6 separate regions of the Homo sapiens genome follow, and regions 1, 2, 4, 5 and 6 are each linked to region 3. The links are contacts of gene promoters, found by promoter capture Hi-C in blood cells and fetal thymus (Javierre and others, 2016). All regions are on one chromosome and are shown on one strand. The core of a region is centred on a gene start or on the middle of the fragment in contact, and the rest is flanking DNA. Distances in the headings are between cores, read along the strand shown.

Region 1 (4,177 bases), core at 416-2,915, 970 kb before region 3:
CTGCATCCCCAAGGAAGTGGCCGTGAAGCCTTCCTGGCCTGCATCTGAGACCTCCCACACTGCAGCCCTGGTTCACCCTTCCAGGCCATGCTCCTACCTGCCTGCCAAAGTGTCCACTCACTTCCTAGCCTCTAAGTCTCTGCTCCTGTGACATCACTATCCTTTGAGTTTCAACCCAAAATCTGCCTCCTCAAGGAAGGCTTTCCCAAGTCCCACCACCTGAATAATTTGCCACAAAGTACTCTACTGATGCTCTTCAGCAGGCGCTTGTGAAATTCTGCTTGCTGCTGCTATTATGTACATAACTACCCTGCCCACCGTGGAGCTCCCCAGGGAGAGGGGACTTCTCTTGTCCAGCTTGTGTGTCCCGCCCCGTGCCTAACTCAACATCTGGCTGAACACCTGGGGTTCACTTTGGGTTCCATTGGATAGAATCACCTACAGCAAGCAATCATCCTTTCCATAAATATTTACTGAGCACCTATTCTGTGCCCAGCATGGTGCCAGGCCTTAGGGTGGTGATGATGAACCAGGAAGTCAAGGCTTATCTCTCCACAGTGCTTAGAGTTGCCTAGGGATGGGATAGTTGCTCTACAAGTAAACAAAATAGGGAACTCGCTTTTCCATCTGCACCCAGCCACGTTTCCCTCTGGTTCACTGCTGCATTCTCCCCAGCTCTCTGCTCACACAATTCCCTTTGGTGATAAAAATGACGTAGCCCCTCCCTGTGGGATCTGCATTGGGCTGGGGTCTTGTGAGATGGGCACCCCTCAATCCTCATGGGAAAGAGCTTTGCCCTCGTTGCCGCTGCCCACTGGGCTTCCTGGAGAGGTAGACAAGTGGAGCACTTCCACTCACCACAGAGTCTCGTGTGACCGGGGGCCCTGTAAGGGGCGGAGGAACTTGGATATGGCGAGGATCAGTGTGTACGTCTTTCCCCTGAGTCCTGAGAAGCTCCAGGAAGCTTCCATTGCCCAAGAACTTCAGGGTGGGCTGACAATGGGCAGTAGCATTGTCCCTGTCCACAGATTGGGGAGCGGGGCCTCAACCTCTCTGGGGGGCAGAGGCAGAGGATTAGCCTGGCCCGCGCTGTCTACTCCGACCGTCAGCTCTACCTGCTGGACGACCCCCTGTCGGCCGTGGACGCCCACGTGGGGAAGCACGTCTTTGAGGAGTGCATTAAGAAGACGCTCAGGGGAAAGACAGTCGTCCTGGTGACCCACCAGCTACAGGTGATGGGACATGCAGGATCCAGGAGGTCACGGGATGGGTGTGGCTGGGGATCTGATGCTCACAGAGCCTCCTCTTCTGCCTATATCTGCCTGTCTTCAGCTGGGAATGTGGGGAGGGAGCCAGGGATGCAAGAGACACTCATGATTCCCCAGCCTTCCTGGCTCCCAGGAGGCCCACCTCTTCCACTCCATGCATGGCCTCAGTGGGGCCAAGACTTTTCCTGCACCAGAGGGTAGATTCTCTAGAAGCAATTGAGTCCTGCCTGTGGGTGGATTGGGGCACCCTTCCCCAAGTTCTGGGCGCCTGGTAAGATGGGGAGCCAGGGAAAACAATGACGGCCCCACCCTTACTCCAGCAATTCTGGGCAAGCCTGAGGCCAGGGATACCTTGACTGGGGGTGTCAGGGGGTGGTAGACCTCTTGGATGAGGGGCCCAGATGCCCCAGGTATCACACCCCAGGGGAAAGGGGCTTGAAGCCAGGACTTTGGGACTAAGGCTGAGGCTTTGGGGAAGCTCTCTCTGCTCAGGGCCACTGTCTCAGGCTAAGGAGCATGAATCTCACTGAAGAAAGCGACTGGGCTTGACCTCAGTGAATTTAAGAATTTGGCAGAGTGGGAACAGCCCTCACTGCATTGGTCTCACATAAGGCGTCCTGATTGCCTGATGGGAATCCAAGAACCTCCTCCTCCCAGGCCAGGTTTCCCTGCTTCCAGACCATCTCCCTCTCTCTTCTTTGTAGGGAATCCCCAGAGATGTGTGGGGGAAGGGGGGGCAGTGCATGTGTGTGCACGTGTGTGTTCATGCGTGCACGTGGGTGTCTCCTTGCCCGACGAGAGATTCCTTGGGATTGACTTATGTTGAAAGGCCTATTGGAGCAGGAGAGCAAGTGTCCCGTCTTCTTTACTCTCCTGCTACCTGCAGAGAACATGTTACATAAGGGCCTGGTCTGGGGGCAGGAAGCAGGTCTTTGCAAAGGTAAGTCAAGCTGGGGTGGAGAGGGAGGGGCAATAGCAGCAAATAAAGTTGCCATGGCTATAGGATGCTGCAGCCAGCATTTTAGGACCCTCCAGTAGTGGCCAGGAGGACCAGCCTAAAGAGGGTGTTCCTCGAAGACCCTGTAAAACCAAGCTTTCCCATTGCTGTGATGCTGCCCCTAGCCTGAGCTCACCTTTGCCCAGGGCTAGAGTTCTGGTCCCGGAATAAGCTCCAGGCATCCGAATTTTGCGCATGGGGATTGTCTGGATTTCCTCTGAGTGGGCCTGAGCACCTCCAGGAAGCATCATGCTGGGCTGGTGTGGGCAAGAGCTCCTAGTTCTTCTTCTGGCCTAGTTCTTCTTCTGAGTTAGGATGGAGGACAAGGTTGGATTTCTTCAAGACCCTCATGAGGTGACAGAATGGGCTCTGGCCCAGTCTGGATGCTAAACCTGGCAGCCCTAGCTCTGCACCTGGAATATCCCTGGAGACACCCTGCAGCAGGGAGGGCTGTCCTCCAAGGGCTCTGGGGATCTGGAGGGGGATGCCTCATCCCTGACAGATGTGGGTCATGGCTGTCCCTCCAGGAGTCCTCATGAGGGGAATCATAACCTTGGTCCTGGTTCGGTCTTTGAAACTGACTGAGCCGCAGTATGACCTCAGGCAGGAGCCATCTTCACACCAGGTCCATCTCCTTAGATTCCACCTTCCCGTGTCATTTTATCCAACTTTTTGCAAGTTGGAAGAGGCAGGTAGCCACCAGGTGGCACAAGATCTTGGTCCTGCTGTGCCTTGTCAGGGAGAATGGAACTTAGAGCCCCAGAACTGCGGCCCGGGGCTTTTCCAGAGCCTATCCCCTCTGCTCTTACTCCCAGGCCCACAGGCAAGCATCTTAGTGGTTGGGGTGGATGATCGCTCTTCTAAGGAAACCACTGAAATCCAACCCAGGTGCAGATTTGGTGACGGCTTGCAGAACAAAGCTGCTCAAATCTGCCTCATATCTCTGGAGTGAACTGGGGGCTTGCTGACCAGAGGGGGCTTCCCCGGGAGCTCCTGGAGCTGGAGCGTGTGCTGTGGCTATGGGACTGGAACAGGCTTATGGTGTCTCAGTTTCCCCATCTGAAAAATCAGCTGATAAGACAGGGAGCTGGGCAGTTAGTGGGAGGGAGGCATGAGGGCTGGAGCTGTCCAAGCTGTTAGAACTGTTATCATTCAGCCTTTGGGCACCCTCCCAACTCGCCCAATCAAGTGTACAATGACCGAACACAGCTACTTCTTTCAGGCTTGTAATCAAGAGCAGCAGAGGTTGATTTGACCTTGGATGAACCGTGCAGTATCAGGGAAGACCTCTGGCCCATACTGCAAAGGCTTCTTTCGGTCAAACCATCTTTAGTCTCAGCATCTTGCCCACCTCTAGGAGGGAGCTTCCTTGATCCTGGGGGGAGAGCTCTGTGTCTCATTCCAAAATGAAAGGAAAACCCTCTTAGCAGAACTCTTTGATCTCAGGAATGATATGGAAATGAAGGGAATTCAAATTAAAAAAAACAGAAGTGCTTTGGGCAAAATGTGGGATGCCAGCATTAAATGTAGCTGTGTTTTTATCTCATAGATAAAGCTGGCATAAATTCCTCAGGCCAGGGAATGTGGCCTCTTGCCTGGAGACCACACCGTGGTCTGCTTCTCCTGGGCTAAATGGGGATGATGAGGGAGGCTTGTAATTTTAGAACACAGGAGGACCTTCGTGAAGATCATATTTCCCCTCCCTACCAAGTCCTGGCTGCTGTGACTGTCAGTTTTATTTTCCAAATCTCCATGATCAGATTTCGATTTATTTATTTAATTTTTTTGAGACAGAGTCTTGCTCTGTCATCCAGGCTGGAGTGCAGTGGCACCTTCTTGGCTCACTGCAACCTCCACCTCCTGAGTTCAAGCGATTCTCCTGCCTCAACCTCCTGAGTAGCTGGATTATAGG
Region 2 (4,166 bases), core at 1,220-3,719, 940 kb before region 3:
ACTCTGGCAGAAGAAGAACACCGACATTGATCCTGATGTCTACTGAGACCTTGCAGTGTGCCAGGACTGTGACAAGCATTTTTTCCATGAATTATTTCACTGAATCCTCATCTCACCCCATGAGATGGGATTTGAGGCTCACTGAGGTTAGTAACTTATCTACAGATGCCCAGGAAGGAAGGGACAGAGATAGGGCTTGAACCCTAACCAGTCTGGCTCCACAGGCCCTGCTCCCAACCCCTTCACAACAAAGCCCCTCCAGTCCTTTCCCCTTGGCCTGTTGCAAGGACAGTGATGGTCATCAGTATCATCCCTGGGGGAGAGTGACTTCTGAGGGTTTGGCTGTTTGCATGTATAAGACACGAAACCATCTTAGCAAACCCCTCTCCCACCCCAACCCCTTGCTATCACTGCCATGTCAGCCAAGGGGAGACTATGTAGAATAATAGTAGCCATTTAGCCAAATTCCTCAAAGCACAGGCTTAGGTTATTAAATCCTGAACATATCCCTGTGGGGTAGGTGTCTGCTATGATCTGAACATTGTGTTCCCCCAAAATCCTCCTGTTGAAACATAATCCTCAGTGTGACAGTATAGAGGTAGGGCCTTTAGGAGGTGATTAATTAGGTCATGAGGGTGGAGACCTCATGAATAGGATTGGCTCTCTTATAAAAGAGACTTGGGGAAGCTTGTTCACCCCTTCCTCCATGTGAGGACACATAGAAGGCATCATCTGTGAGGAATGGGCCCTCACTCAACACCAAATCTGTTGGCACCTCGACCATGGATTTCCCAGCGTCCAGAACTGTGAGCAATAAATTTCTGTTGTTTATAAATTACTCAGTCTAAGATATTTTATTATATCAGCCTGAATAGACTAACACAGTACAAGTGTTATCCTTATATTACTGATGAGGAAACTGAGGCATCAAGAAAGTAACTTGACCAAGGTTAGCCACTGGTGAGATTTGAATCCAGGCAGGTTGACTCTAAAAAGTGTGCTCCTCCAGGAGTATGAGACCAGCCTGGGCAACAAAGTGAGACCTCGTCACTACAGAAATACATACAATAAAAATAAAACATGTGCTGTTAAATTCCATGCAACACTGCTAGAAATGCAATCCTCCTGGTGAGAAAGAGCAGTGCCTGTGTTGTAAAGCCTGAGTACTGGTCTGGGTAGACTCAGTTATGCTGCAGTAACAAAAGACCCCAGACCACACTGGCTTATTTCTTGCTTATGTGACACATCCATCACAGGTGAGCTGTGACTGTGCTTATCCTCTTCACTCTGTGACCCAGCGGAGCAGAGCAGTCTCTGCCAGGAACATCATGTTTTGTGGTAGAGGGCAGGCAGACATGGCAATCGGAAGTGATACATGCTACTTTCATCCACATTTCATGGGCAAAACAAATTGCCTGGCTGCTCCTGAGTTCAACAGTGTGGGTAGTGGTGGTGGTATATACCCTACTCCACAGGGAGGGCCACCATAAGGCACAAGGACCAAGCTTATTCCAGCAGGAGTTGTATAAGCTTCCTCTTTGGAGGGGCAGCAAATATTTTGAACAATACAACAACCTACTATAGCCTGGGTTGGGATCTTCATTCTGCCACTGAGTGGCTGTGTGATATGGGGAAAGTAGCTTGCCTTCTCTGAACCTCCATTCCATCTGTAAAATTTGGACAAAGTGCTAAGGTCTTTTTCATTCTTGACTTTCAATATAGGAGAAACAAAAAAGGAGATATGAAAACAGTTTCTATTGGAATTTGGGCATTCAGAGGGGATTAGAATGCCCTATAAATGTAATTAAATGTTTTTGTTGTTGTTGTTGCTGTTGTTTTGAGATGTCACCCAGGCTGGAATGCAATGGCGCAATCTCGGCTCACTGCAACCTCCACCTCCCAGGTTCAAGAGATTCTCCTGCCTCAGCCTCCTGAGTAGCTGGAATTACAGGTGTGCACCACCATGCCTGGCTAATTTTTGTATTTTTAGTGGAGACGGGGTTTTACCATGTTGGCCATGCTGGTCTTGAACTCTTGACCTCAAGTGATCCGCCCACCTCGGCCTCCCAAAGTGCTGGGATTACAGGCGTGAGCCACTGCGCCTGGCCTTGAAATTTTTATTCTCATTTATTTCAGTGCCCCAGCTTTGCTGTGCTCTGATATCATCTGCCTTTTGGGTGATCATATGCTCAATGTTATGAATTAGGACCTTTTGAATAGTAGATGCCAACAGAGAATGGAATAAGCCACTTACAAGCATGTGGTTATAAATTGGTAACAAATTGCCTGTGACTTGTTTCATCAACACTTGTATCCTGGAGCTAATTTTGAGGCTACCTGGTCTAGAAAAAGTGTGGACAAATTAGCCCATAGGCCAAATCCAGCCAGCCCACCTGTTTTTATAAATAAAATTTCATCAGAATGCAACCATGCTCATTTGTTAATTCATTACCTATGACAGCTTTCACATTCCAACAGCAGAGTGGAGTGATTGTGACCAAATGTATATCCTCAAAGCCCAAAATATTTACTATCTTGTTCCTTTACAGAGAAAGGTTGCTGTCTTCCGATTTGGGGCATTGGCGTGGGATATGATTCATATGAGGGGGAAGTCTGTTGGTTGTCGGGATGGGGTCTGGAAGGCATACCCTCCCGTTGCCTGGTCTATCTGGGGAGTCAGCAGCCTCGTGTGAGCATGAAGGAAGCAAGACAGAAGGACAGAGCACAGGGACTTGCTTACTGCACGGAGCTGCTGATATACCAACCCTGAAGTCACCCTACCTCTTGTCTTTTTTTTTTTTTTAATTGTAGATTCAGGGGGTATGCATGCAGTTTTGTTACATGGGTATATTGTGTGATGCTGAGATTTGCGCTCCTGGTGTGCCCATTACCCAAGTAGTGAAAACATACCCAATAGTCAGTTTTTCAATCCTTGTTCCCTCCCCACGTTTGGAGTCGCCAGTGTCTGTTGTTCCCATCTTTATGTCCATGTGCACCCAATGTTTAGCTCCCACTTACAAGAACATGTGATACTTGGTTTTGTTTCTGCGTTAATTCACTTAGAATGATGGCCTACAGCTGCATCCATGTTGCTGTAAAGGACATGATCTTATTCTTTTGTATAGCTCCTTCTTCTTGTCCTGTTATAGAGGATACATTTTCCTTGTTGTTTAATCCAACTCTAGTTGGTCTTGCTGTTACTTGCAGCCCAAAGTGTTGTAAACAACACAGAAGAGTCATATTCTCCTCTTGCCTGGGAAGATGCTGATCCTCACCTGAGGAAGAAAGAATCCCAGTCCCCGCACTGCGAGTTACACCGTCTCCCTCCCACTCAGATGTGGCCCAAGTGAGCCAGTTCACATTGAAGCAGGGAGGAGTTTCCGATTCTCATCTGTCCCCCAAGCTTCACGCAAATTATAAATATTCCCCTTGCCTTCCCTCCCTACTGCTTAAGATCAGAAAGACCCAGAGAGAACTCACAGATTTTATTCTTGCTGTTCAAGTGAACAGATCTGAAATTGGCCCAGAATTGTTGGTAAAATATGAAATGTTCTTTGCTAAGAGCTGGAATCACTTTGGCCAGTACAGCATGATTCAAAATGAATTGGAAAAGGCAGGAGTTCAGTTTTGGGTCAGATGGACGATCAAAGAAATCACTTTTCTTTTGGCCCTGTGTAGAAGGTCACTTCTGGGTAAGGCCAAATCAAGCATTAACGTCTTCAAATAAATGTCAATTTCCATGGAGAAGCCCTGCCTAACTTCATGATGTGCACGTTCCTGGCTTCAGCTGAGAGCTTTCCCTCTGCCGAGACCAGCATTCAAGGACCAGACCAAGTCAGTTTCTATTGTTTTAGCACAAACCTGCCTCCTTCACCTGGCAAGAGCCACACTCAAAGAAGCCTCAGCGTGGTTTGTGGCAATTGTTCTGCATTGCTCTAAATAATTTTTTTTATTATGGTAAAATGGAAATAACAAAACATTTACCATTTTAACAATTTTAAGTGTATATTTCAGTGGCATTAAGTACATTCACATTGCTGAGCAGCCATCACCATCATCCGTCTCCAGATATTTTTCATTTTTCCAAACTGAAACTCTGTGCCCACTAAACTCCCCATTCCCCTGTCCCCGTAAAACCCTGCAACCACTATTCTACTTTCTGTCTG
Region 3 (3,707 bases), core at 274-2,773:
AGGCTGGTCTTAAACCTCTGACCTCGGGTGACCCGCCTGCCTCAGCCTCCCAAAGTTCTGGGATTACATGCGTGAGCCACCTTTTCATATCCGTGGGAAAAAGTTCTTAAATGTTTTATTTCCTAATTGGTTCTCGTGTGCGATCTTAACTGTAGTAGGTGGTTACCTTTAGGAACCCAAACTTACCCATCTTTTATGCCCCCATTCACAGCACATGGCAAAGGGTGAAACACCTCGATATTAATTGGTGTTAAGTATGTTTTTCCTTTGTAAATCTCATGAATTATTTATGCTTTTGTACCTTTCTTGAAGGAATACAAAGTGAGAGAGAAGAGCTTAACACCTGAAAAATGTTTCAGTTGCCTGACATTGTCTTTAGCTACAATTGGTTAGACAAACGTTTACAGAGTTCCTACTACACGCAGAGACAGGCATAAATATTCTATTATGGTAAGGCCTTGATCACGGTTGTTATCTCCAGCACCAATCATTGTCTTCTGCACATAATTAACACCCAATACGTATGTGTGGAGTGAAAAAAATGAATGCAGTCGGCCTGCCTGCAAGCAGCTGATATTTTAATGGTGTGAGGGTGAGGGAGATATAAAGGATGAACAAATAAATAAATGAGGAAGGTCATATCAGTGTGATAACCGCTGTGGAGAAAATAAAGCAGGATCATGAATACCACCAACAGCCAGGCAGTTGTTGGCAGACCTGGAGACTCCCATCAGCTGGCGAAGCTGCCCAGCGTAGTGGTTAGCTGCTAGGAGGGCAGCCCCGGGGGAGGTGCACAGCCCTGCCGCTCATTCGCTACGCGGCTCTGGACGAAGGGCTTCACCTCTCTGGCCTCGACTTTCCAATCCCCTAAAACCTACTTCATGAGGGGGAGTCTGAGGAGTTGGTACTAAAGTGCCTGTCAACCTGGCGGGCGCTAGGGAAACGCCGGCAGCGCCGCGGGTCGGGAACTCACCGGCGCGAAGGGCACGGAGAGCCTCGGGCTCCCTCTGCCGATGTCCGCGCTTCCCTGCCCAGGGTCGAGCAAGGCTGAGCTGGGCAAAGTTTTGACCTTGAATGGAGGTCTGGGGGACTAGGGACCGGCGCCCCTCTCTGTCTGCTAGGGCTGGCGGAGACCCGGCAGGCCGGCGAGGGTGCGGGGCCGAGGTGGGCGGCGCTTCCCGGGCGCCTCCGTCAGACGGGAGGCATCGAGGGCTCGGCCAGCTGCCCCGGGCGCCCTGCGCGGCGGCTGGGCACGGGCCGGTCACTGCCCCGGCGCCGGCCTCTCGGACGAGGCCGCCGCGCAGCCACGGCGAGAGGCACCCTCACTACCCCCGCGCCCAGCCGGCTCCCAGCCCTAACGGCAGCCGGCGGGGAGCGACGCCGTCCCACGGCGCGAGGCCGCGGCGGGCGCGCGAGGCGCGGCGCGGGGCGGGGCGGGGCGGGCACATGCGCACAGGCGGCGCAGCCGGCACGCGGCGCTCGCGCTCCCTCCTTAAATGAGCCTGGGCGCCCCGCGCCCGCCACTTCAGTGGATCCCGCGCCGGGGCCGCGGGCGGAGCTGCCTGCCGGTCCCGCGCCGCGCGTCCGCACTCCTCGGCCCTCGGGCGGTCGATGGGACGGGGCGCCGCGGAGCAGGAGGCGGCGCCCGTCGGGGTGCTCGGGCCGCGCGGGAGCCCACTGTGGGGCTCGGGCATGGCGGGCCGCAGGACCTGAGCTCTCCTCAGGGGAGCGGGGAGGCAGCTGCTGGCCGGCGATGGGGACGGAGTGGGGCCGTCGCCGCCGCGCCGAGCCGTGAGCGCCGAGCCACCGCCGCCGCTACCTCAGCCCTTCGCGAAGCGCCGGGCAGCTCGGGAACATGGCCCTGGAGCGGCTCTGCTCGGTCCTCAAAGGTAAGGACCGGGGCTGGGGCCACGGACGGCGCCCCCTGCGGGCCGAGGCTGGCGCGCCGCCCTGCCCGCGCCTCTGCGTCCCTTACCCGCGCCCGGGACCCGACGCGCCTCTTTGTCTGGCGGGGCTCGCGGCTACTCGGAGCGGACCGCGGGGCGCGAGCCCTGCCCGGCTCCGCCGGCTCTCCGGGCGCGCCGCTTCCGACCCCTGCGAGTCCGGCCGACGTTCGCGGGGCGCGTGTGGGAAGAGGGATCGGGTCGGGAAGGCGGCCAGGAGGCCCCTGGGCCCAGCAGGGCCCTCCGGGCTGCGCCCTCGCGCCGCTTCCGTAGAATTCCGCGCATCCCTTTGCAAAGTTGTGAGATTCCTGTCGTGGAGCGGAGGCCGCTCTTTCTCCAGATGTGATGGCAAAAAGTAATTCCACGAGAACAATAAAAGCCGCGGCCGTGACGTCGTGCAGTGGTTTTCGAATAGCCCCGCGGCGCCTGCACCTCGCGGCGGGGAACGGGGCCTGCTGGGCCAGCCGGGTCCCACCTGCTGCGGCCACGGAGGCTGCGGCACCACTGCGGGCTCCGGGGGCGGCGCGCGGGCGCCGCGGACCCGGCTTGTCCCGGCCCCCGGGGAGCGCTGCTGCTCGGGTGCTTCCCGGGACGCGGCGCTCCTCGCGCTCCGCCAGAGGTCTCAGAATTCCCCGCCGCTGGTGTTCGGTTCTTACTAATTTGTTGTACTGGGAATTAAAACAGTTGGCTTGTCCAGAGCACAGAGCTCTAAAACCTACTCCACCGGCTTTGCATTTCCCAGGAGGTGGTAATTTAGATGAAAATTTATATACATAGATAATTAGGATTGGGATACAAAGTTGCTCCTGAAACTCGGACTGAATAAATCGTCTTTTCAATTTCCAGAGGGAAAACAGCACCACCACTCAGTAAAGGACTTCCCTTTTTCCCCCTGCTGATTTAAATTGAAAGCTGACGTGTTTGTAATGTCGTAACATGTTCTTTTTTTAAAAATTTCGAGGGTACGGCTGAGGCATTATTAACGGTGTTATGTATAACTCAGCACTGTATCTTAATATTTGTAGAGTGACTTTTTTCCTGCTCCCTAACAGCACTTTTTTCAAATTTGTTTTATTAGAAAGTTCAGTGTAATTTTGCTTTTGATTTTAATTGGACACATTGTCTACTCTCCACATATTCCTAAATTCGTAATTGAGATTTCAGTAATTCGAAACGTTTAACTACCCCACTGTAAACGTATCTACAGCTTGTACTAAGGTAACCTAGGACTTTCTAGCTGATGAATATTTCACAAACCGTAAATCCGTAGTGATTTCTTTATTACAATTGAAAACAACTCTGAAATTCATCCTGTGGCTTTCATATCTCTAACTCCTAATTTTTACAGTCATTCCTGGGAAAGGAATGTTTTTACTCTTTCGTGATAAACCGTATGCACACTAGGATTTCTGATCGTGTTGCTTATCTGAATTTTCTGCCGTTGTCGGATTGCGCCCTCACTACGGTAAGGTTGTCAGCATGCTACTGACCGTGCATCCGAGAGCACCCCCGGATGAAATCGCGTAGATCTGTCACACCGCTTTACCTGCAGAACTTGATAAAATCGAGCTGGATAGGGTAGGGGCTGGTAGCGCCTCCTCCAATGGTGAAGGGATTTGCAGCGTTTCTGCCTTTGCCTTTCCCGTGGGTGCACACTGCCCTCTCTGGCCATCGTGGTGAAGCGTTGAGTGTTGTACCTTTCAGGAAAGGATTCTGGTGATGGCAGAGCTACGGTGAAAACAATATAGTGTCTGGCTTTTCTTT
Region 4 (4,169 bases), core at 506-3,005, 920 kb before region 3:
AAATAATATGGTGCCTACCACAAGACCTTGCCCATAGTAATAATAGCTCAGTTGATATTATTATTAATTTATTTATTTATTCATTTATTTTTTAGACAGGTTTTCACTCTGTCACCCAGGCTGGAGGGCAGTGGTGTGATTTCAGCTCACTGCAGCCTCCATCTCTCTGACCCAGGTATTCCTCCCACCTCAGCCTACTGAGTAGCTAGGACTACAGGTGTGTACCACCACATCTGGCTAACTTTTGTATTTTTTTTTTTTTTTTTGGTAGGGTGGATTCTCACTATGTTGCCCAGGCTGGTCTCGAACCGCTGGGCTCAAGAAATCCACCCATTTCAGGCTCCCAAATTGCTGGGATTACAGGCATGAGTCACAGTGCCTCTTGGGTATTATTTTTAGTATTATTATGAAACACAGGAAAAGACATTTGAAGGGAAAGAGGTTAGGTAATAAGTTGAGTTTTAAAAGGTGAAAGATTTATACCATCTGAAGAGAAACCAGAGTATTGAGTTGAGTTTTAGACATGTTATACTTCCTGGATATCTTAGGCAAAATGTCTAGTAGGCCAGAGGAAATAGGGGCTCAGGATTAAAGTTAGAGCCTGAAATAAAGATGTCAGGACTGGGCACAGTGGCTCACATCTATAAAAGCCCAGCTACTCCGAAGGCTAAGGTGGGAGGATTGCTTGAGCCCAGGATTTTGAGACCAGCTTGGGCAACATAGTGAGACTCCAACTCTAAATTTAAAATAAAACAGAAGGCCGGGCATATTGGCTCATGCCTGTAATCCCAGCACATTGGGAGGCTGAGGCAGGTGGATTGCTTGCACTCAGGAGTTCGAGACCAGCATTGGCAACATGGCGAAACCTCATTTCTACTAAAAATACAAAAAAAAAAAAAAAAAATTAGCCGGGCATGGTTGCACAGGCCTGTGGTCCCAGCTACTCGGGAGGCTGAGGTGGGAGGATTACTTGAGCCTAAGAGGCAGAGGTTGCAGTGAGCCAAGATTGTACCATGGCACTCCAGCCTGGGTGACAGAGTGAGATTCTGTCTAAAAAAAAAAAAAAAAAGGATGATAAAAATTCTACTCTAGGTGCAGCCTGGGTCGCCGATGGGGGGAGGTGGAGCCGGGGCCCGCGGGACCGCTGAAGCCCCCAGAGCCGCCTGAAGCGCCCGCGAGCCGCCGGCCGGGAGAGATCCGGGTCCTGAAGAGACGCGGTTTCACTATGTTACCCAGGCTGGTCTTGAACCCCTGACCTCAAGTGATCCTCCCTCCTTGGCCTCCTGAAGTGCTGGGATTACAGGAGACTGGAACCTACTGAACGACCTCTTCAGATCATTTATGATTACTTATCCAGGCTGGGATTTGATGATCCTGTGCACATACAGGAGGAGGCTACAAATCCTGACCTCGGCTGTATGATTCGATTTTATGGTGAAAAACATTGCCGCATGGATCATTTGGATCGAATCCTATTGTTTGGCATCAATAATGTACGCAAGGGAAAGACTCAGCTGCATAAGTGGGCTGAGCGCCTAGTTGTCCTCTGTGGTACCTGCCTTATCGTTTCCTCAGTGAAGGATTGTCAAACTGGAAAGATGCACATTTTGCCTCTGGTTGGTGGAAAGCCGCCTGCCTTGGCCTCCCAAAGTGCTAAGATTACAGCCTCTGCCCGGCCACCACCGCACCTGGGAAGAGGGGAGCGTCTCTGCCTGGCCGCCCATCGTCTGGGATGTGAAGAGCACCTCTGCCCGGCCGCCCATCGTCTGGGATGTGAAGAGCACCTCTGCCCGGCCGCCCCGTCTGGGATGTGAGGAGCGCCTCTGCCCGGCCACCCCGTCTGGGAAGTGAGGGGCACCTCTGGCCGGCCGCCCCGTCTGGGAAGTGAGGAAGCCTCTGCCTGGCCGCCCATCGTCTGGGATGTGAGAAGTGCCTCTGCCCAGCCGCCCCATCTGGGAAGTGGGTGCCTCTGCCCGGCCGCCCCGTCTGGGAGGTGAGGGGTGCCTCTGCCCGGCTGCCACCCCATCTGGGAGGTGAGGAGCCCCTCTGCCCGGCCGCCCTGTCTGGGAGGTGGGGAGCACCTCTGCCCGTCTGCCCATCGTCTGGGAGGTGAGGAGCGCCTCTGCCCGTCTGCCCATCGTCTGGGAGGTGAGGAGCGCCTCTGCCTGGCCGCCACCCCTTCTGGGAGGTGAGGAGCCCCTCTGCCCGGCTGCCCCGTCTGGGAAGTGTATACAACAGCTCTGAAGAGACAGCGACCATTGAGAACGAGCCATGATGACGATGGCGGTTTTGTCCAATAGAAAAGGGGGAAATGTGGGGAAAAGAAAGAGAGATCAGATTGTTACTGTGTCTGTGTAAAAAGAAGTAGACATAGGAGACTCCATTTTGTTCTGTACTAAGAAAAATTCTTCTGCCTTGGGATGCTGTTAATCTATAACCTTACCCCCAACCCCCTGCTCTCTGAAACATGTGCTTTGTCCACTCAGGGTTAAATGGATTAAGGGCGGTGCAAGATGTGCTTTGTTAAACAGATGCTTGAAGGCAGCATGCTCCTTAAGAGTCATCACCACTCCCTAATCTCAAGTACCCAGGGACACAAACACTGCGGAAGGCCGCAGGGACCTCTGCCTAGGAAAACCAGAGACCTTTGTTCACGTGTTTATCTGCTGACCTTCTCTCCACTATTATCCTATGACCCTGCCACATCCCCCTCTCTGAGAAACACCCAAGAATGATCAATAAATACTAAAAAAAAAAAAAAAAAAAAAAAAAAAATTCTACTCTAAAGATCCTGTTTTATTATTTCAAAAATAAAACAAAAAATATGTCAGGGTTATCTACACAGAGGTGACAGCAGAAACTCAGGCAGGTGGATGATATTGCCCAGGGAAAACACATAGAGAAAGGAGAAAAGGAGTTCAAGAATGGGTTTGGGTTTGGTATCAGTCAGGACTCTGGTTATAAGTGACAGAACCCCAAATCAACCGGCTTAAGCCAAAAAAAAAGGGGGGGGGCGGGGAGGGAGAAATGTTTATTGATTCAAAATAACCAAAGGTACAGACGAAAGTATACATCGTTTTATATATGATTACCTGGTTGAATCCAGGGGGTCAAAAGATGTCATGAGGCCGGGCGCGGTGGATCACGCCTGTAATCCCAGCACTTTGGGAGGTCGAGGCGGGCGGATCACGAGGTCAGGAGATCGAGACCATCCTGGCTAACACGGTGAAACCCCGTATCCAGTAAAAATACAAAAAACTAGCCGGGCGTGGCGCCGGGCGCCTGTAGTCCCAGCTACTCGGGAGGCTGAGGCAGGAGAATGGCCTGAACCCAGGAGGCGGAGCTTGCCGTGAGCCGAGATTGCGCCACTGCACTCTAGGCTGGGTGACAGAGCGAGACTCCGTCTCAAAAAAAAAAAAAAAAAAAAATGTCATGAATGCCATGAGGATTCTCCACTCTGCCTTCCCAGGATGGCTTAATTCTCAGGCACCTTCTCCCTGTGTCGCAGCAAAGATGGCCCCTGAGCTTCATTCTGTCAGTTTAGAAATCTCAGCAGAGGCCAAGCACGGGTGGCTTACGCCTATAATCCCAGCACTGTGGGAGTCCGAGGCGGGTGGATCAGTTGAGACCAGGAGTTTGAGACCAGCCCGGCCAAACATGGTGAAACCCCGTCTCTACTAAAAATACAAAAATTAGCTGGGCGTGGTGGCACACACCTGTAATCCCAGCTACTCAGGAGGCTGAGGCGGAAGAATCCCTTGAACCCGGGAGGCGGAGGCTGCAGTGAGCCAAGATCGTGCCACCGTACTGGAGTCTGGGCGACAGAGCAAGACTCAGTCTCAAAAAAAAAAAAAAAAAAAAAAAAAAAAGAAGAAGAAGAAGAAGAAAAAGAAAAATCTCAGCAGAAAGAGAACATGTCTTTCCCAGCAGGCCAAAGCCCTCCGCCTTCCTACAACTTGTTTTTTTTTTTTTTTTTTGTAAATAAAGTTTTATTGGAACACAGCCATGCCCATTTGTTTATGTTTTGTCTATGGCTGCTTTACAGCTGCAGCCACAGAGCTGTAGTTACCATGGAGACCATATGGCCTGTAAGTCCGAAATATTTACTATTTGGTCCTTCACAGAAAAGTGTTGCCAACCCTGGCACTAGACTCTAAGGCCATAAGAAA
Region 5 (4,081 bases), core at 1,049-3,548, 900 kb before region 3:
CAATAACTTATTTAAGGACAGGCAATTAACCCAGGCTGAACCAATCCTAATACTTCATCCTCCTGGCCATAGTGGTTGATCCAGCCCCTGGGCATGCAACCTGTTCTTTCCTGTTTTTCTCTTTCTTTTTCTATTTCTTTGTTAATTGGAGCTTGGGAGCAAGAGCCTCATTTTCAATGTAAGGCTGGGAGGGTCAGCTAAAGAGTAATTGGTGACCCTGACTTCAGCCTTCAGGAAGAAGCCAGCCTCAGGGTTCTGGGGGACACAAAGAGATCACAGATAAAGTCCCGAGGTCACTCAAGTTTCCAGCTTCAATAGTTTCAGAGAGACTTCCCGTTCTTTTCAAGGTTTGGAAACAAATCCTCCTTTCTGCCTATTTTGAGTTGAGCTTCTGTTACTTGTGACTCAAAAAAGCTTGACAGATGTGGACTTTGGAGCCAAACTACAACTTGGGTTCAATCTGCATCTGACACTGGCTCACTGTGCAATCTTCAGAAGGTTCATTAGCCTCTCTGTCTCAGTGTCCTCATCTATAAAGTGGGAACAATAATAGAACCTATCTGATATAGTTCGGATATTTGTCTCCACCCAAATCGCATGTTGAAATGTAATCCTCAATATTGGAGGTGGAGCCTTGTGGGAGGTGTTTGGATTATGGGGCCAGAGTCCTCATGAAAGGCTTGGGCCATCCCTCAGTAATAAGTGAGCTTTAGCTCTGAATTCACACGTGATCTGGTGGTTTGAAAGTGTGTGGCATGGCTGGATGTGGTGGCGCACACCTACAATCCAAGCTACTCGGGAGGCTGAGACAGGAGAATTGTTTGAATCCAGGAGGTGGAGTTTTCAGTGAGCAGAGATCACACCACTGGACTCCAGCCTGGGTGACAGTGTGAGACTCTGTCTAAAAAAAAAAAAAGGCCGGGCACGGTAGCTCACACCTGTAATCCCAGTACTTTGGGAGGCCGAGGCAGGTGGATCACCTGAGATCAGGAGTTTGAGGCCAGCCTGGCCAACATGGTGAAACCCCGTCTCTACTAAAAATATAAAAATTAGCTGGGCATGGTGGTGGGCACCTGTAATCTCAGCTACCCGGGAGGCTGAGGCAGGAGGGAGGAGAATCATTTGAACCCAGGATGCAGAGGTTGCAGTGAGCCGGGATGGTGCCATCGCACTCTAGCCTGGACAACAGACTGAGACTCCATCTAAAAAAAAAAAAGAAAAGAAAGTGTGTGGCACCTCTCCCCACTCTCTTTCTTGCTCCTGCTTGGCCATGTGACATGCCTGCTCCCCCTTCACCTTCTGCCATGATTGTAACTTTCCTGAAGCCCCCCCAGAAGCTGAGCAGATGCCAGCACCATGCTTCTTGTAAAGCCGCGGAATCACGAGCCAATTAAACCTCTTTTCTTTACAAATTACTCAGGCTCAGGTATATCTTTATAGCAATGCAAGAACTGCCTAATACACTACCTTGTAAGGATGCTATGAGGATTAAAAGAATCAATACATATAAAGCACACAAAACTTGTATTTTCATCAAAGTGTGAGTGAGTGGCAAAAAATGATTACACACCCCAGAACAAGGGACCCAATCTGTCTGCGACTGAAGAGTCACTTCTGCTCAAAGACAATTTGAAACCTAAAAGGTAATTCCTCTTCTATCAGTTTTTCACCCTTAAAGAGGAATAGTAACTCCACATCAGAAAGATGTTTCTCTTTTCCTTTCCCAAAGAGAAAGAAAAAAGAACTTTATAAAATCAAATTCATGTTTCATCAAGAAATTAAAAGACAAAATTAGACAGGCAGTCCAGAATGAGGTAGAATTCATCAATATTCTGAGAGGGATAGAAAGTTGAAGAGATAGTAGAGTCATTATAATAGATTTAAACACCCACCACGAAGAGAAATTACTAATGGGTGAATGTAGGTATAATTTAATGCTTGCGTTTTTTAGAAAAATCCAAAAATGACAGGTCTGTAATTTTGACTTCAGTAGAGGAGGTAATGGAAATACCGTTCAGGCTTGGAGAAGCAGAGTGCTATGAAAGTTATTACTTAATTAGAGATTGTAAGCACAGATTCAAACGAGGGAAGAATTTTCATTGTGTTTGCAGTAGGTTTGTTGGCATTGCAAAGAAATGAAGAGGCAGCCGGGAAGTGAGCTAACAACTTCTCCGAGTGGGACTACCTGAAATCCAATTCAGGGTGAGAATCTAGGGCCCTGTGCCCAAGGAAACCTTCCCTGCAAGCTGCCTTTATCATCTAGCGCCCTTGGTGCTGGTCTCAGCAGAAACAATGACATCTTCAAAAATAGGAAGGAAAAGGACAAAACTGAGCAGTGATTTTCATGTTTTAGGAAATGACCTCAAAAGGAAGAGATTAAATGAATGTCGAAGGGATTGTAGTTTTGATAGGACAATCAGGATCTATTATTAAAGCATCAGGTTGAGGCTTCGGAGCCAGGAAGTGATGTTGCCCTTCCTGGGGGTCTGTAGGAAGAGATGTCATGACAGTCCAGCAGACAATGCCAGAAACGTTGGGGAGATGGTACACTTAGGATGGAATTTATGGCTATTTTGCCCACTGTCTCCACAACACAACACATCACTGTGAGTTATATTGACATTAACAATATAACTCAAACATGGGTTTTGGTTGTCACAGAAGGTTTTGGCACTAAATCTCTTTAAAGAGAAATGAGGATTTCATGCAAAATTCATGATGTCTGGGAAGCCCTCTTCATTAAAATGGTGGGAAAAAGCATAGAAGGCTAGGAAGTGGCTGGTTGACATCACTATTTTTCCAAGAGTGGGCTTTTAAAAAGGGCTTTAAAAATGGTTATTTCCAGGCCAGACGTTTTCTCACATTTTCTCTCAGAGGATTACAAAAAGGGTGGCTCACCAGCCCCAAATTTTATTTCATTCACTCTTAGTTGAAAAGGGAAAGTAAATCACACACTGTGTATTCCATGGATGTCTAATTGGCACCAGGACAACCTGGTCTGTCCACAAACCATGGGGTCCCATGCCCAGAAGTATTTTTAGGTTGAAGGACAGCAATCTTTTCCCTCTTTTATTATTATTTTTTAACTGATACATAATAATTGTATATATTTATGGGGTAGAGTATGACATTTCAATACATGTATACAATATGTAATGATCAAATCAAGGTAATTAGTATCTCTGTCACTTCAAATATTAATCTTTTTTGTGTTTGGAACATTCAGAATCTGCTCTTGTAGTTATTTGAAAGAAAACAATAAACTGTTGTTAACTATAGTCACACGACAACGCTATAGAACACTAGAACTTTTTCTCCTATCTAGCTGTAATTTTGTATCTGTTAACCAATGTTTAGCTACACCTCTGCCACTTCCCAACCTCTGGTAACCAGTATTCTACTCTCTACTTTTACGAGATCAACTTTTTTGGCTTCCGCAAAGGAGTGAGAATATGCAGCATTTGTCTTTCCTGGTTTGTTTCACTTAACATCGTGAATAAAGGTTCACCTGTGTTGCCATGAATGACAGGATTTCATTATTTTTATGGCTGAATAGTATTCCATTGTGTATATATACCACATTATTCATTCACCTGTTGATGGGCACTTAGGTCGATTCTATATCTTGGCCACTGTCAGCAGTGCTGTAACAAACATGGGAGTGCAGAGAACTCCTTGACGTACTGATTTCCTTTCCTTTGGATATACACCTAGAAATAGGACTGCTGGATCATATAATAGTTCTATTTTTAGTGTGTGAGGACCCTGCATACCATTTCCATAATAGCTGTGCTAACTAATTTACATTCCCACCAACACCGTGTAAGAGTTCCTTTTTGTCTGTATCCTCAGCAGCATTTGTTATTTGTTTGTGTTTTTGAGAATGGCCATTCTAATTGGGGTGAGATGATGTCTCATAGTGGTTTTGGTTTGCATTTACCTGACTATTAGTGATGTTGAGCATTTTTTAACACATCTGTTGGCCATTTGTATGTCTTCTATTGATAGAAGTCTATTCAGCTCATTTGCCCATTTTTAAATCAGATTATTTGTTTTTTCTATTGAGTTGTTTGAGTTCTGG
Region 6 (4,076 bases), core at 976-3,475, 990 kb before region 3:
CTGGGCTCAAGCAGTCTTCCTGTCTCAGTCCTGCCAACTAGCTGGGACTACAGGTGCATGCCACTGTACCTGGCTAGTTAAAAAAAAAAATTGTAGAGATAGGGTCTCGCTATGTTGTCCAGGCTGGTCTTGAACTCCTGGGCTCAACCCATCCTCCTGCCTCAGCCTCCTGAGCAGCTGGGATTACAGGTGCAAGCCACTGCACCTGGCCACAGTGAAGGTTTTTAAAAAAAGCTTGAATTTGAATGCTCTAGGAAGTGGAATGCCTCTTCAATTTGTCAAAGCCCCCAGCACTCTCTTTGAGTCCTGGCAATTCATGCCTTTACATGACCTGCCTGACCCCCCATGGTGTTCCTCAGACAGCATCAACAGCCACAACTCAAGGGAAGAACTTGGCTGAGAATCTGAAGCCAACTTCCTTTAGAACTTTTTCTGGCACTTACACTCCCATTTCTGGATTTTTAGGCCAGCTGCAACTCAGCACTTCTCTCTGAAAACAGTGTTTGTACCTTGATTTCAGATGTTTATGGCCAAGCTCAATTCAGCTTTCCGAAGGTCAGCAATTTTGGTGACAGACAAGCGAGTTCAGACAATGAATGAGTTTCTGACCTGCATCAGGCTGATCAAAATGTATGCCTGGGAGAAATCTTTTACCAACACTATCCAAGGTAGGACAAGAGTAGCTGCTTAAAGAACCACTTACCTTGTAGAATATGCTCTTCTAAGGGGTTCTTACGGTTCCCAGGGCCAGGCATTCCAGAAGGAGGCTGAGGGGACCCTCTGAGCTGCTCTGCAGGTCAAAGAATTTTTCAAAGGATTATGGAGATTTAATAATAGAGCCAGGCATCTGTTCTGGTGAACCCAGGGGTGAGTGACATATGGTTTCTCTTTCCTGGGGCATGTGGATCCTGGTCCTGGCGAGTTACTTTTTATAAAAATAATCCACTAAAAACATTGTGAGCAGGAAAAAAGCTGTCTCCAGCTATTTACTTAACTTAGAAGACATCTACACACACATACACTCACACATCCAGGGTTACACAGACCTCTTTGCCTGCAGCAGCGTCCTTGTGTTCGGATGGTCCACTGACTCAACACTCCTTGGGCAGACACGAGGAGATGCATATGTAGTTTTACTTTTTTTAAAGCTGATATAGAAACTATTTTGATCAAATATAAATGCAAATCTAATTGCAGGGACATTTACATAATTGCTGACATAGACTCAGGTGGTTCACCAGTTAATGATCTGAACCACTGTTACAATTGACTGTCTGGATGGACAATTACACTTTTGCACCAGCATGGAATTGGGCCAAAGCTGTGTATCTGCCCTCTAGGGAGTGGCTGTAGAGAACCTGCTTCTGAGCTGGCCAAAGGAAGTGCCCCAGGTTGGGACCCCAGCAGCACTAGGGGACCCTCTTTGAAAACCCAGAAACACATCCTCACACTCTGAGTTCACTTCAGTGCAATTTAATTTGATTTGATTAAATTTGATTCCATGTGATTTCAACTTAATTTAACTTGTCGATTTAGTTCAATAAATATATATCAAGTTCCTACTTTGTGCAAGGCCATGGGAGCTACACAAATGAAATGGAAAAGTTTCCTGCTTTTATGAGTAAGGGAGGATAAGATAACTTAGCTCAAAAATAGCCACGAGTTTGTTGGCTCTACCTTCAGAGTATATCCGGAAGCCATCTGCTCGTCTCCATTCCACTCCCACCCAGTCCAAGCCAATATCCTCTCTCTCCTGGACTATGCAAGACATCTAGGCACTGCTCCTGCCTTCCCCCTCCCTCCTGCAATCCATTGTGCACTCAGCAGTCAAAGTGACCTTTAAAAGATGTCAGTCAGATCCTGTTCCTCCCCTGTTGGAAAATAGTGGCTTCTTATCACACTTAAGATTATTCAAAGTTAGGTCTTTGGAAGGAAATCCAAATTCTTTCATATGGCCTGTTAGGTCAGACATGATCTGGCCCTTGGTGACCTCTCTGACATCATCATCACACTTTACTGTAACCTTAGGAAACTCAGCTCTAGCGGTGTCTGCCTTAGTTTGTTTCTAGAACCACACGCCACACTCGTTCATGCCTCGGGATCCTTGCAATTGCTGTTTCCTTTGCCTGGAGTGCGCTCCTGCTGGATGTTTACAGTAACTTTGTCTTGACTTTAGGTCTCTTCTCAATGTCCAGAGAGGACTTCTGGGCTGCAGTTCCAAGCATGTCCATGCCCTACCTCTCAATCACTTCATCCTGCTCATTTCTTTCAGATCACTCAACACAATTTGTAATTATTTAATTGTTTATTTCTTTCTTGTCTATCTATCCCACTGGAAGAGGGCCGAGACCCTGTTCACTCCTCTATTCTCCAAACACAGGTGCAGCACCTGGCATGTAGTAGACATCAGGTTCAAATATCTTAAGTGAGTGAACACATGAATTCACGTTATTCTATGGGGGAAGATGGAGGAAGTGCCACAAGAGAAACAGAGATGCTCCATGGGGGAGCACACTGGGTTGGGGAGACTGGGAATGGCTTCCCTGCAGAAGTGGCTTTCAGGTAGGCCAAAGGGATAGGAAGGATTGGGACGCACAGAGAACTGGGGAAGCCCACTTAGGGAGGAGCAGAGGCCTGGAGGTGGAGATAAGAGGGTGCTCTTGGGGACTAGGGGGTGCTGGATGTTCTTTAGGGGAAGGGCACCTGGATAGCAGAGCTTGGATCCCAGGAGAAGTGGGCTTCGATTCTGCCCTGATCACTGAAAAGGCAAGTTTTCAGTGAAGCAAACCTGCGCAAGCAAACCTTCGAAGACAGTTTGCTCTCCTGTCAAAAAGGCATAAAATAACAGACTCTCTCTCATCATGCAGTGGTGAGGACGATCTTATGAGAAAGCACCTGTGAAGTGTTGAGCAGAGCACCTGGCATGTAGTGATCACGCCATTAGAACATCTGGAGCTGTCCTGTGTGGATATGAAAGGGCTTTTGCAGAGGAGGCTGGAATTGGGGTTGAGGACAAAAAACAGGAGGTGAAGGAGGCTTGAATGTAATTTGTGAGCTTTGCAGAGCCGTGGGCATGTTCTGGACTTAGGAAGGGGAGAATACTCTTGAGTTTTTGTGTCTATTCTTGGGACACCAGGCAGGTGCCTTCAGGCCAGCACATGTGTTTTATTTCTCCCCATACAGTATAGTATTTAAAAATGTTTTTTCATTTAGTTCCCAACATTTAAAAATAGGGAGATGTCTCAGAAAAATCTGGACCTCATGGGAGGATTGCTTGAGCCTAAATATTCGAGACTAGCCTGGGCAACATAGGGAGATCCCAACTCTGCAAAAAATTAAAAAAAAAAATTATCTGGGTGTGGTGGTATGTGCCTGTGGTCTCAGGTACTCAGGAGGCTGAGGTGGAAGGATCGCTTGAGCCTGAGAGGTCAAGGCTGCAGTGAGCTCTATCATGTCATTGCACTCCAGCCTGGGTGACGAAGCAATACTCTGTCTCAAATATAAATAAATAAATAAAAATCTGGACCTCAGACTTTGAAATGGTTGACGATCTGGTTGTTACTGGACCGAACTGTGGCCTGCTTATCTGGCACAGTAAGGCCAAATATCCACGCTGAGGTTTTGCCGCAGGAGAAAGGAGGGCCTTTATTTGCTGCGTGCCAAGCAAGGAGAATCAGGCGGCTCATGCTTAAGACCTGGCCTCCCCAGTGGCTTGCAAGCAAGGGTTTTTAAAGGCAGGGCTAAATTTCAGGAAAGCGAAGTTACAGGCAAAATCGTAACTCATACATGGAGATTATGTATTGGTTTGGCCTGAAAGGGTGGGGTATCTTTTTTTTTTTTTTTTTTGAGACAGAGTCTCGCTCTCGCCCAGGCTGGAGTGCAGTGGTGCAATCTCGACTCACTGCAAGCTCCGCCTCCTGGGTTCATGCCATTCTCCTGCCTCAGCCTCCCGAGTAGCTGGGATTACAGGCTCCCGTCACCACCCCTGGCTAATTTTTTGTATATTTAGTAGAGACGGGGTTTCACCATGTTAGCCAGGATGGTCTTGATCTCCTGACCTCGTGATCCACCTGCCT

What was found. Contacts are between HindIII fragments. The CHiCAGO score rates a contact against its expected background, and 5 or more counts as called.
Region 1: a fragment that was not itself captured here is called in contact with the fragment with the promoter of NETO2 in region 3 in 17 of 17 cell types (fetal thymus, M2 macrophages, megakaryocytes and 14 more); the score reaches 28.2 in fetal thymus.
Region 2: a fragment that was not itself captured here is called in contact with the fragment with the promoter of NETO2 in region 3 in 1 of 17 cell types (M2 macrophages); the score reaches 10.4 in M2 macrophages.
Region 4: a fragment that was not itself captured here is called in contact with the fragment with the promoter of NETO2 in region 3 in 5 of 17 cell types (M2 macrophages, M0 macrophages, endothelial precursors and 2 more); the score reaches 12.7 in M2 macrophages.
Region 5: a contact is called between a fragment that was not itself captured here and the fragment with the promoter of NETO2 in region 3, in 1 of 17 cell types (endothelial precursors). The highest score is 5.6, in endothelial precursors.
Region 6: a contact is called between a fragment that was not itself captured here and the fragment with the promoter of NETO2 in region 3, in 8 of 17 cell types (megakaryocytes, M2 macrophages, naive CD4 T cells and 5 more). The highest score is 10.5, in megakaryocytes.

What each region holds. Positions count from the first base shown.
Region 1 is chr16:48,112,470-48,116,646 of GRCh38, reverse strand. ABCC12 (ATP binding cassette subfamily C member 12) reads left to right here. Exons shown (of 31, transcript NM_001393797.1): 15 at 1,029-1,232. Among named protein-coding and RNA genes, the nearest start is that of ABCC12, 41 kb to the left of the region's middle. The HindIII fragment of the contact is 1,397 bases long and covers 967-2,363 here.
Region 2 is chr16:48,077,554-48,081,719 of GRCh38, reverse strand. ABCC12 (ATP binding cassette subfamily C member 12) reads left to right here. Exons shown (of 31, transcript NM_001393797.1): 31 at 1-838. Among named protein-coding and RNA genes, the nearest start is that of ABCC12, 76 kb to the left of the region's middle. The HindIII fragment of the contact is 1,873 bases long and covers 1,533-3,405 here.
Region 3 is chr16:47,141,761-47,145,467 of GRCh38, reverse strand. It overlaps NETO2 (neuropilin and tolloid like 2), which reads left to right and starts at 1,523. Exons shown (of 9, transcript NM_018092.5): 1 at 1,523-1,889. The coding sequence starts at 1,856. It overlaps ITFG1-AS1 (ITFG1 antisense RNA 1), which reads right to left and starts at 1,400. Exons shown (of 4, transcript NR_110904.1): 1 at 974-1,400. RefSeq lists silencers at 993-1,322, 1,383-2,222, 2,393-2,542, 3,370-3,419, 3,430-3,519. The HindIII fragment of the contact is 8,905 bases long and covers 1-3,707 here.
Region 4 is chr16:48,057,128-48,061,296 of GRCh38, reverse strand. No RefSeq gene overlaps it. Among named protein-coding and RNA genes, the nearest start is that of LINC02134, 94 kb to the right of the region's middle. The HindIII fragment of the contact is 7,460 bases long and covers 1-4,169 here.
Region 5 is chr16:48,037,663-48,041,743 of GRCh38, reverse strand. All of the region lies in intron 1 of LOC124903686 (a long non-coding RNA gene), which reads left to right. Among named protein-coding and RNA genes, the nearest start is that of LINC02134, 74 kb to the right of the region's middle. The HindIII fragment of the contact is 3,764 bases long and covers 417-4,081 here.
Region 6 is chr16:48,134,820-48,138,895 of GRCh38, reverse strand. It overlaps ABCC12 (ATP binding cassette subfamily C member 12), which reads left to right. Exons shown (of 31, transcript NM_001393797.1): 8 at 521-668. Among named protein-coding and RNA genes, the nearest start is that of ABCC12, 19 kb to the left of the region's middle. The HindIII fragment of the contact is 3,978 bases long and covers 237-4,076 here.